Regions from separate parts of the Homo sapiens genome. Here region 2 is linked to region 1. The links are contacts of gene promoters, found by promoter capture Hi-C in blood cells and fetal thymus (Javierre and others, 2016). All regions are on one chromosome and are shown on one strand. The core of a region is centred on a gene start or on the middle of the fragment in contact, and the rest is flanking DNA. Distances in the headings are between cores, read along the strand shown. Region 1 holds the start of HOXD1 (homeobox D1). Region 2 overlaps LINC01116 (long intergenic non-protein coding RNA 1116).

Evidence for each region. The method cuts DNA at HindIII sites, captures the fragments that hold promoters and counts their contacts. A CHiCAGO score of 5 or more calls a contact.
Region 2: a contact is called between a fragment that was not itself captured here and the fragment with the promoter of HOXD1 in region 1, in 1 of 17 cell types (fetal thymus). The highest score is 5.1, in fetal thymus.

What each region holds. Positions count from the first base shown.
Region 1 is chr2:176,186,490-176,191,387 of GRCh38, reverse strand. It overlaps HOXD1 (homeobox D1), which reads right to left and starts at 2,720. Exons shown (of 2, transcript NM_024501.3): 1 at 1,935-2,720; 2 at 481-1,580. The coding sequence starts at 2,586. The coding sequence ends at 1,246. HAGLR (HOXD antisense growth-associated long non-coding RNA) reads left to right here and starts at 2,430. Exons shown (of 3, transcript NR_033979.2): 1 at 2,430-2,574. MIR7704 (microRNA 7704) reads right to left here and starts at 2,545; the gene lies at 2,487-2,545. The HindIII fragment of the contact is 11,390 bases long and covers 1-4,898 here.
Region 2 is chr2:176,617,246-176,622,143 of GRCh38, reverse strand. The region is part of intron 4 of LINC01116 (long intergenic non-protein coding RNA 1116); the gene reads left to right. Among named protein-coding and RNA genes, the nearest start is that of LINC01116, 18 kb to the left of the region's middle. RefSeq lists an enhancer at 32-1,231. The HindIII fragment of the contact is 485 bases long and covers 2,578-3,062 here.

The DNA of each region.
Region 1 (4,898 bases), core at 1,471-3,970:
CTAATTGCCCATAACTTGCTGGGTGTGTACACAACCTGTAGGAAGTATTATTTTTAAAAGTTATCGGCTGGGCGTGGTGGCTCACGTTTGTAATTCTAGCACTTTGTGAGGCCGAGGTGGGCGGATCACCTGAGGTCAGGAGTTCGAGTCCAACCTGGCCAACATGGTGAAACCCCGTCTCTACTAAAAAAAATACAAAAAATTAGCTGGGCATGGTGGCTCATGCCTGTAATCCCAGCTACTGGGGATGGTGAGGCAGGAGAATCACTTGAACCTGGGAGGCAGAGGTTGTGGTGAGCCAGAATTGTGCCACTGCACTCCAGCCTGGGCAACAGAGCAAGACTCCGTGTCAAAAAAAAAAAAAAGTTATCAACATAAACAAATTCTCATAGCAGAATCAAGAAAATTCAAATACAGGAAACTGAATCAACTTTAAAGAAAGAGAATCATTATTAAAGAGTGTAAGAAAAGCAGAGAGCAGCAGATTCTATAATTTTTATTACAAAAAAAACCCTTTACATGCTATGACATTAAATGTCACTTATAAGGTCATTGCAAGCAAATCTTTTTAAAAAATATACATACTGTATATATTTACATTCAAGTTTGAATAATATTTGTCAAGATATAGTTCAGATTCTACTCTTTACCCATTCTGTGGATTTGTTCATCTAGTAACTAAACAGCGATTGTATCATCACTCAGGCACATAGAGAGGTAGAAACCGCTTTTTTAAAGAAAAAAAAACTGGAGTGCAAATGTGAAGATCACTGAAGCAGCTTAGCTACATCAAGGAGACCCTAACTAGCTTTGGTCATCTCAAAAAGCTGAATATATGTAGCCTTGTCCTTTAAATTAAAACCAGAAAAACTTTGGGCAGGTGCTCTTCTGAGCACATCAGAGTGCTGACAGAACTCAGCAACTAATGGTCTGCCACTCTGCAACGCGAATTGCACATGACTAAGTGAGGCAAAGATAGCAGCGGAGCTGGGCTGGCAGCTGGGCACCTTTTCCCTGATAAGACACAAATCATAACCAAACAAGTGGCTTACAAGACAGTCAATTAATATCTGGACATATAGTCTGGAACTCGGAAGCCAACTAAAGTACTTCATTTCCCAAGTGAAATCCCTATTCATTTTTGTTCTCCCACCTCCATCCCAAACTGAGCTCCTAAGTCTAGATAGGGATGGGGGTCGCCTGGGACTTCTGCAGGCCACAGTTTTTCGGCCCCAAGTACCGGCCTCACGAAGGCTCTTGGGACTGAGAAGGGCTGCCGGGGTTCTTGATAAACTTAGTGGGGGTTGTTCCAGAGAGGGGAAGTTGGAGGGGAGCCACAGGAATGGCCGTGGCCAGAAGCCCTTCTCGTTCCCTTTTCTTCTGTTTCATCCTGCGGTTCTGGAACCAGATTTTGACTTGCGTGTCATTCAGGTGCAAGCAGTTGGCTATCTCGATGCGCCGGGCTCGAGTTAAGTACTTATTGAAATGAAACTCTTTTTCCAGTTCTGTCAGTTGCTTGGTGCTGAAATTCGTGCGGATCGCGCTGGAGGGGCTAGCGGCCCCATACTCGGCGAGTTTGCCTGCAACGTAAAGACAGGGCGTCAGCCAGGCCTGAGGCCGGGGACAGAATGTGGGTGAGCAGTGGAGCTAGTTAGAATCAAAGTCCCAGCGCAGCCCTCCTGGGTCCCTAGGAACAGAATTTGTACCAGGAGAAGTTCCACGGAGAGCTCCTTCCTGAAATTTTCTCAATGCCTGGCACATTTTCCGAATCTGTACTCGAGGCAGACTCCATGGAATTCGCCCGGGAACGCGTCTCCTCCACAAAACCCAAACCGCTGTCTGGAAAGGCAGCGACACCACGCTCCCAGCGCATTTCCGCGGGGGAGGCTCCGTCCCCAACCCCAGGTGGCCCCATCCAAGGCCCGCGGACTTACCTTTCTTAGAGGCATTCCTCTTCACTTTCATCCACTCGAACGTGCTGAAGGCGGCAGGGAGGCCGGAGGCGGGAGAGACGGACTTGGGGTAGGTGCCTGGGGCCGGGGATGCGGTCTGGAAAGCACCAGGGTGGCCGTCGGCTGACGCTTTGAGACAAGCCGGAAAAGGGCCGGGTTCGCCGAAGGCCGCGTAATCCACCTGGCCGCTGAGGAGGAAAGAGCCGCCGCCCGAGAAGACGGCCGAGGTGGCGTAGTGGACGTGAGACCCGCCGTCGTCGGCCGCCCGCCCCAGCACGCCCGGGAAGTCGTACGCCGGCCCGGACCCCAGGAAGCCGTAGTCCGCGCCCCCAGCTGCCGCGGCAGGTGCGGCACCAGGTTCGTAGGCCCCCTCCAGGGTGCACTGCGCGTACTGGGGCGCGGCCGGAGGCGGTACGGACGGCCGCGCGGGGGCGGCCGGGGGCGAAGGCGAGGGTCGGGCGGCGGCCAGGGGCAGACAGCTGACGAAGGCGCCGTCGCCGTTGCCCAGAGGGAAGGCGGGCTGCAGAGCCACGGGCCGGGCGTCGGAGCGGCAGAACTTGGGTGCCAAGCTGAGCACGTCGCCGCCGACCCCGCCGCTGCTGCTGCATGACACGTACTCCAGGTAGGAGCTCATGGTTCGGGCCCCACCTTTCTGAGGGCGCAGGCCGGGGCCGGAGTACGGAGCCGGGCAGAGGCTGAGCAGGACTGCCGCCGTCTGCGCCGCTCCGCCAGCCCTCTCTACCCGAGCTGCCCTCTCCAACCCATGGCGAGTGAGCCGGAGGTAAATAGTGGCCTAATATACCGGCGGGGGCGGCCACGTGGCGCTGGCCGGCCAATGGGCGGCCTCTCCGCTCGGCCCGGTCGGCGCGCCGCTCCTCGCGCCTGCCCCGCAGCCAAGTTAGCCAAAGCAGCCCAGGGCCGCCGCCCAGCGCCCCCGAGCCCCGAGGAGAGCCGTCGCGACCGGGGGCTGCCTGGGCAAGGGCGGGGCGAGAGGGCAGAACGCCTGCTCTCGGACAGGTATTGGGCGAGGTGGGGGGAGAAAGGCAGGACTGGACGCTTGGGTGAGGGCCCGTGGATGCAGCGGGGCGAGCCGCTTCTGCTCTGGATCGTGGGGGGGGCTAGTCCCTCGAGGGCGGAGTGTGGGCGTCGCGGCATGGAAAAGGTTAAATGGGAGCGTGACGCGCGGCCGGTGGAGACTGCTCTTCGCCCACCTCCAGGACAGATAAAGTTATTCCTCTTCCCCTCTTCTGAGTCCTCTGCGCTTTCGGTTTGCTTGGCGCTGATGTTATCCCTCTTCTAAACCTAGAGCAGATGTTTGGTTTTTTCCTTTCTTCCCCCTTTCCTAGGACTCATGGAACTACATCTTATGCTGTGAGTGCTGTGTGCCTAGGGCGGGACAAAATTTTCACTTTTTGACTAGGCTTCCTTTTAACGTGACTTTGCAGCTTTCTTCTATCCCTCGCAATTTGTGGCGGCGTGATGAGGGCCAGTGTTGTAGTGCCAGATTTTGATAAAGTTTCTGCCTTGTGGGGTGGTTTAGCAGATTTTCCCCTCCGGCTGGGTTGTTGGAATAAAGAATCCAGAGTGGTGGTGGAACACTCCTTATGCTCCTTTCTGGGAGACTGGCACAGGCACCGGTGCGGCGCTTGCTTTCACTGAGGAGCTTGTCTGGAGGGCGCAAGGGCTTACCGGGGACGGGTGAGATCTCAGAGGTTTAGATGGACTTGTACCTCGAAGCAATTAGAGCTTCTGCTCCATCAGATAAGTGCTGCATCGTCTCTTGTGAGTGAAATCTGAGGGCTCACAATGTTAATGGGCTCACGTCTTTCCCTTGATAATATGGTTTTGTTTACTGAGTGTAGAGAGACGGGAAATAAAAGTGCAATTGCCACAGGAAATGAAGAGTAGAAAGGTTACAAAGACCAGCTTTACATTGACAAACTTTCCAACTTCCTTTAGTATTTCTTTTAATGTTCCCTTTTGAGGGGACTGTAGGAAAATTACAAATTAGATAAATAGAGGTTATTTACACACAGTAGTTATGAAAGAGGGTGGTTTCCTAAAACCCTGTGTGAATAAAGACTCTAAAGAGTCTACTCAGAGCTTATATCAAGTGCCCTTGAAAAGTTAATCTATTACAGCCTCTAAGTTATGGTAACCGAGGTTTTATCATTGTTTTACTGATTGACTTGTCATAAAAGAGCGATTGAGCTGTTGTTGCCTAAATTTCCACTCTGAGGAAGTCTTTAGAATAGGCGCCATCACAGCCCAGGGAGCCAGTTCCTTCCAGGGTTGTGGACTTGTGAATAAACAAAGCCCTACCAAAATGTGGACTACTGATGGACCCGAAGTTGCTGCAGGATGGGGGAGGGATGTCCCCAGGTTGAGGGGAGCCAGTAGAGGGTGGATGCCTAGGAATCAGCACAAAGTTAAAGAGGTCTGTGGTTCCTGCACTGCTGGAGTTCTTGAGTTTGATTGGAAATGGAATACCTGTGCTGAAAATAGCCCTTCAATCTTGATTTTGCTATTTCAGTTGTGCTATAGCCAGTCAGATAAGGTCCTAAATAATTTTTATTTATTTATTTATTTAATTTTTTTTTTTAAGTGCAGTGGCGCGATCTCGGCTCACTGCAAGCTCAGCCTCCCCGATTCACGCCATTCTTCTGCCTCGGCCTCCCGAGTAGCTGGTACTACAGGCGCCCACCACTATGCCCGGCTAATTTTTTGTATTTTTAGTAGAGACGGGGTTTCACCGTGTTAGCCAGGATGGTTTCGATCTCCTGACCTCGTGATCCGCCCGCCTCGGCCTCCCAAAGTGCTGGGATTACAGGCGTGAGCCACCGCGCCCGGCCCTAAATAATTTTTAAGAAGAGAAAAATAAAAGTTCTTCCCTAACACCCCAGTTAGGAAATGTTAGAGCTCTTCAGAGCTAGCTCAGCCTTAAAA
Region 2 (4,898 bases), core at 1,571-4,070, 430 kb before region 1:
AGAACCCATGAATGGAGCCGCCTAAGGAAAAAGATACACAAGAAATAAGGGTTAGACAAATACCACATCTATTTCCAAAACCAGTAAACTTACCATGAGAACACCTTTCCAGTGTAGGGCTTAGTTTGAATTCCATCATAACAAAGAAAAACAAATCTTCATTATGTTTTTCCAGAATCTAGGCCACATCAAAATTCTCTGATTGTCATAGCACATCACATGGCATAGACAGCATAAATGCACTAGAGAAATAAATGTTAACATACAAAACACAAGAGGGCAATGTGAAAAGATAGTATCTGTGAGGGAGGTGTTGATGCCTCTGTTATTAACTGCAGCTCAAAGCATTGTTCATGAGGCACTGACTGCCTCTCAACACAGTGTTATCTCCTTGGCATGTGCTTGAAGTTTTGGGTCTTTCTTGCTTTCCTCTAATCTCCACCTTCTGTCGTTGTTAGTGAGCCTCAGTTTGGACTGAAATCCTGTGGCACGCAGAGCTACATGATCAAAGCCTTGTGTAGGCATTTGGGTCAGTGCCAGCAAAGTTCAGGTTGTACTTCAAACGAGTCCTCAGAGTGCCTCACAGCCAAGGGCAAGGGTTCACTGGGTTTGATCTTGAGCTGCCCACATTTAGGGAGTCTTCGGCCCCTTCAGTTGATAAACCCTGCTTGGCAGAGCTCTGCTTTAATTAACGTGGCCCTTGGGTCGATTCGATTTCCTATGTGTCAGCACCTGACTGGGTGTAACCTTATCTTTGCACATCATACTCATGATGGATCTGAAACAGTACAGGTGATGTTTGTCTTTGACCCAACAGCTGGATTACATCCCAGTTTCACAGCCACAGAAGAAAAGTCTGAAATCTCAACTCCTTATTGACATTTTATGGAGCAGCCACATTGGGTGAGATACTAATATGACTGGACACGGTGATTCCAGTAAAAAGATGATTACTTAAAAGTTTATTTCTCTACTAAGTGTAAGTGTTAGAGGCAATAGAAATAAATAAGTGATACATCTTATGGTTCTTGGGGGTGACATGGAGGTATCTCTCCGAAGCTTGGAAGTTAGGGCAAGTAGTTGTGCTCTAAGCATTAAGTTACTTAAATACATGCATAATTGAAGGAGATAGAATGTTTCTTTACCTTTTGCAAAATGTGATTTCAGAAGAAGCAGGAGTACAGCCCAGTGTCCTAAGGAGCATGAGTCCTACAGTGCTTCTCAAATCTGTTTGGGACAATCTTCCATAGTCACAGTGCCGATTTCACTTTGTTTACATTTGCATTTCTTAAACATGTTTTAAACCATAGAACTCTATCACATGACCTCTTGCTTTTTTAAAAATGTCATACTCATTAGTGTACTAAGGAGCTAATTTACAAGGCATACTTACTCTGGGAATATGGCCTATCCCAGGCTAAGGACAAAAGCTCACCTTGGATGATCTGCACTGGAACACAAAATAAGTAATCATATAGGCAGAGTTTTGTGACTTGTGTAGAATTGTCCTAGAGAGATGGTGATGGAAGTGAAAGGGGGAATCACTCCAGTCACCAGAGATCATGTCCGTGTGCATGTATGTGTGTTTGTGTGTGTACACATGTGTGTATGACTTGAAGTGTCATCTCATCTGTCCTTACCGTAGTCTGTATGGAACATCCTCTGATACTATTCGCTCTCCCTTTGCAGATTTCTGATTAAAAATGTGATATGAGGAAGGTGTTCCATGGATAGGAGCAAGGTATTCTGGACCCCAGAAAGGGATATCCTCCACTATGGATAGTGAAAATTTTCTTTTACTTATTAGTTTCTTGTGAATTAACCAGATACAGTATGACCATCTCTGAATACCCTGAAAAATACCTGGGTCCAAATAGTGGCTTTGCTACTCACTAGATGTATACTCTCAGGCTGGGCTCCATTTCTTCATTTGTGTATTGGGGATACTACGATCTTGTGGGATTTCCATAAGTATTAAACAAAATATGATTAGCGCCTTTCACATCATAAGCATTCCACAAATCTATTTCATAGTTTTGTTGTTTCTATTATGATTCCTTATTGCAAAGATCAACAGACATTAGCACAATTTATAATGTGTTAGAGCCCTTCAAACATGTTCCTCAACGGCCATTGTTAACAACATGTGCATTGCTGTCTTTGATTCACCATTGCTAAGGCAAAATGAGTGATGATATATGTGAAAAATGAAAGAAAAGGTCTATAGATAGGCAAGATGCCTTTTTCCTTTGACTTTCAGCTCCTGGAAGACAGGGGCCTTGTATCTCTATACCCGGAGTGCCTAGTAATGGGCAGGTATTTCTGCTGAATGAATGGATATGCTAATTATCAACTAGAAGGTTCTGAAAAAGAGAGTTGTCGTTGGAGGTGCTGTGTAGATCCAATAATAATAGAAACCAGCTCCTGGAAGGGAATGCCAGCTTGGCAGAGCTTGCGAGTGAGAAGCAAGTCTTTAATAAGCTATTGGTGTTCATAGCTAGAGAGAAAGGGGAATTTAGATTGGGAGACGGGATGGCTTCAAGGATTCCTGATCAGGTTTTTATTCTGACGAAAGCTTGCTGGAAAATGTCTCAGCTCTCTGATATTGTGAATGCCTGTCTGCAAGAGGCGCAGGAAAATCAGGCGAAATCGGTTAGGGTGTTCTGCTCAGTAAGGCTGAATGTGATGGATGGCTCGGTGTGCTGTTTATCTACTGCAGGTTGGTATTTCACCTCTGTTTTCATTAGACTGATGGTAAGGTAATAATTCTTTCCTCTGGCTGAAAAATCTGTCTTCAGCCATTTGTTGATCTTCTTGAACGGGAAGTTCAGGTGCACAGAAGTCACCCTAAAGGAGATTTTGAATGAAAACTTAAATAATGCTGGTCGGCATCCACGGAGCTCTCCGGCAGCACAGGCCTCCGCTAGACTGGCTGTGATTATTAGGTGTGCAGCGTCACATTTGCCCAAGGACAGCAAGCCTACGGAATGATACAGGGTAACCACCGCTGTAGGAAACAAAGCGTGAACATCACATTTGATTTCTTTGGAAACACTCAAGCTTATATTGTAAATTAAATTAAAGCAATGCAGTCTTTATGAGGTGTTTCCATGTAGCACTGTGTTACGGTGGAAAATGCCCCAGCCCGGGCCTCGGAAGTCTCCACCATGATACTCCCTCTGGGCAAATCTCTTAATGTCTCTGAGCCTCCATTTCTTCATCTCTCAAGAGATAATAATAATGTATGCACTGGTTTTTAATAGAAAGCTCTTATCAAGATGATATAGCTTTGAGTTTTTTCCCAAGGCGAGGAGGAACAAACAGAACAATGACAGAGGCTAGTGGCTTTAGTAAGCTGCAGCTCTATAGCTCCTCCCTCTTTCCAACCTCTCTGATGGAGGGCACAGAAAGGAAGATGACAGAGTTGGCTCATTAAGCATTGATCAAGGAAGGACTCTCCCCACACCCGACAGAACAGATCCATCCAAGCAGTTTTCTGAGTTTGTGAGCTGATGGGCAAAGTGATAGAGCTTCCACTCACAGGGCTCGTCAGTTGCTCCATCGGGAAGGGGACTGCTGAAAGGTTTCATCCACCCGAGACAGAGTGGCCAGTAGAAAAGACAGAATCTTGTAACTGCTGGTTCTAACTCGTGGGACTTCCATTAAGGATGAGGGTCCCTTTCTTCCTATAAACCTGTGAGGACAGCCCATCCATTACTTCTATACTGTGGGTTACCTGCATAAGAAACGGTTCTCATTTAATGTAACGAGGTGCCCATATGTCCTGATTTGTTCCTGACAGTCCTATTTATGCTTTTTGTCCCAGAATAAATATTACAGCACTACCATTAACTCTCAGAGTCTCTGGGTTTGGTCAGTAAATTATATGACACAAACGCATTAATTTTATAATAGGCACCTTCTCAATTCCCAGCAAATGCTTCATATGTATCACCACTAACCTCTCTACCATCGGTTTGGTTGATTTGTGATATACAAATACAAATACATTTTTACTTTATATTTTTCACATAGCAATTTCTAGTCATCAATATCATTTTCACAGCACTCCTGAGTTGAGGGAGAGTAATTACAAAGAATTGTGATTAATAAAATGATGAAGGATTTTCTTTCAAATACATTTATGAGAATAAACTAACATAACTTTTGTATAGTGTCAATTAAATGCAAACTTACTGGCCAAGCACAGTGGCTCAAGCCTGTAACCCCAACACTTTGGGAGGCCAAGGTGAGAAGATCACTTGAGACTAGGAGTTGAAGACCAACCTGGGCAACATGATGAAACACTATCTCTACAAAAACTAAAAATACAAAAAATTAGCTGGGCATGGTGGCACACACCTGTAGTCCCAGCTACCTGGGAGGCTGAGGTGGGAGGATCAACTGAGCCCTGGAGGTCAAGGCTGCAGTGAGCCGTGAGCATGCCACTGCACTCCAGCCTGGATGACAGAGTGAGACCCTGTCTCAAAAAAAAAAAAAAAAGTAAACTACTGTAATTTATAATTCTGAAATAACAATGTCAACTAAAGCAGTATTATTACTATTTTTAGAGACAGAGGCTTGCTCTGTCAACCAGGCTGGAGTGCAGTGGCATGATCATAGCTCACTGCAGCCTGAGACTCCTGGGCTCAAGCCATCCTTCTGCCTCAGCCTCCAGAGTAACTGGGACTACAGGCATGCATCACTATACCCAGCTAATTCTTTTAACTTTTGTTTGTTTGTTTGTTTTTTGTAGAGAGGGACTCTCTCTATGTTGCACAGGCTGGTCTTGAACTTCTGGTCTTAAGTGATCCTTCCACCTTGGCCTCCCAAATTGCTGGGATTATAGGCAAAAGTCACCATGCCCAGCCAATAATTATTTTTATTTATTTGTTCTT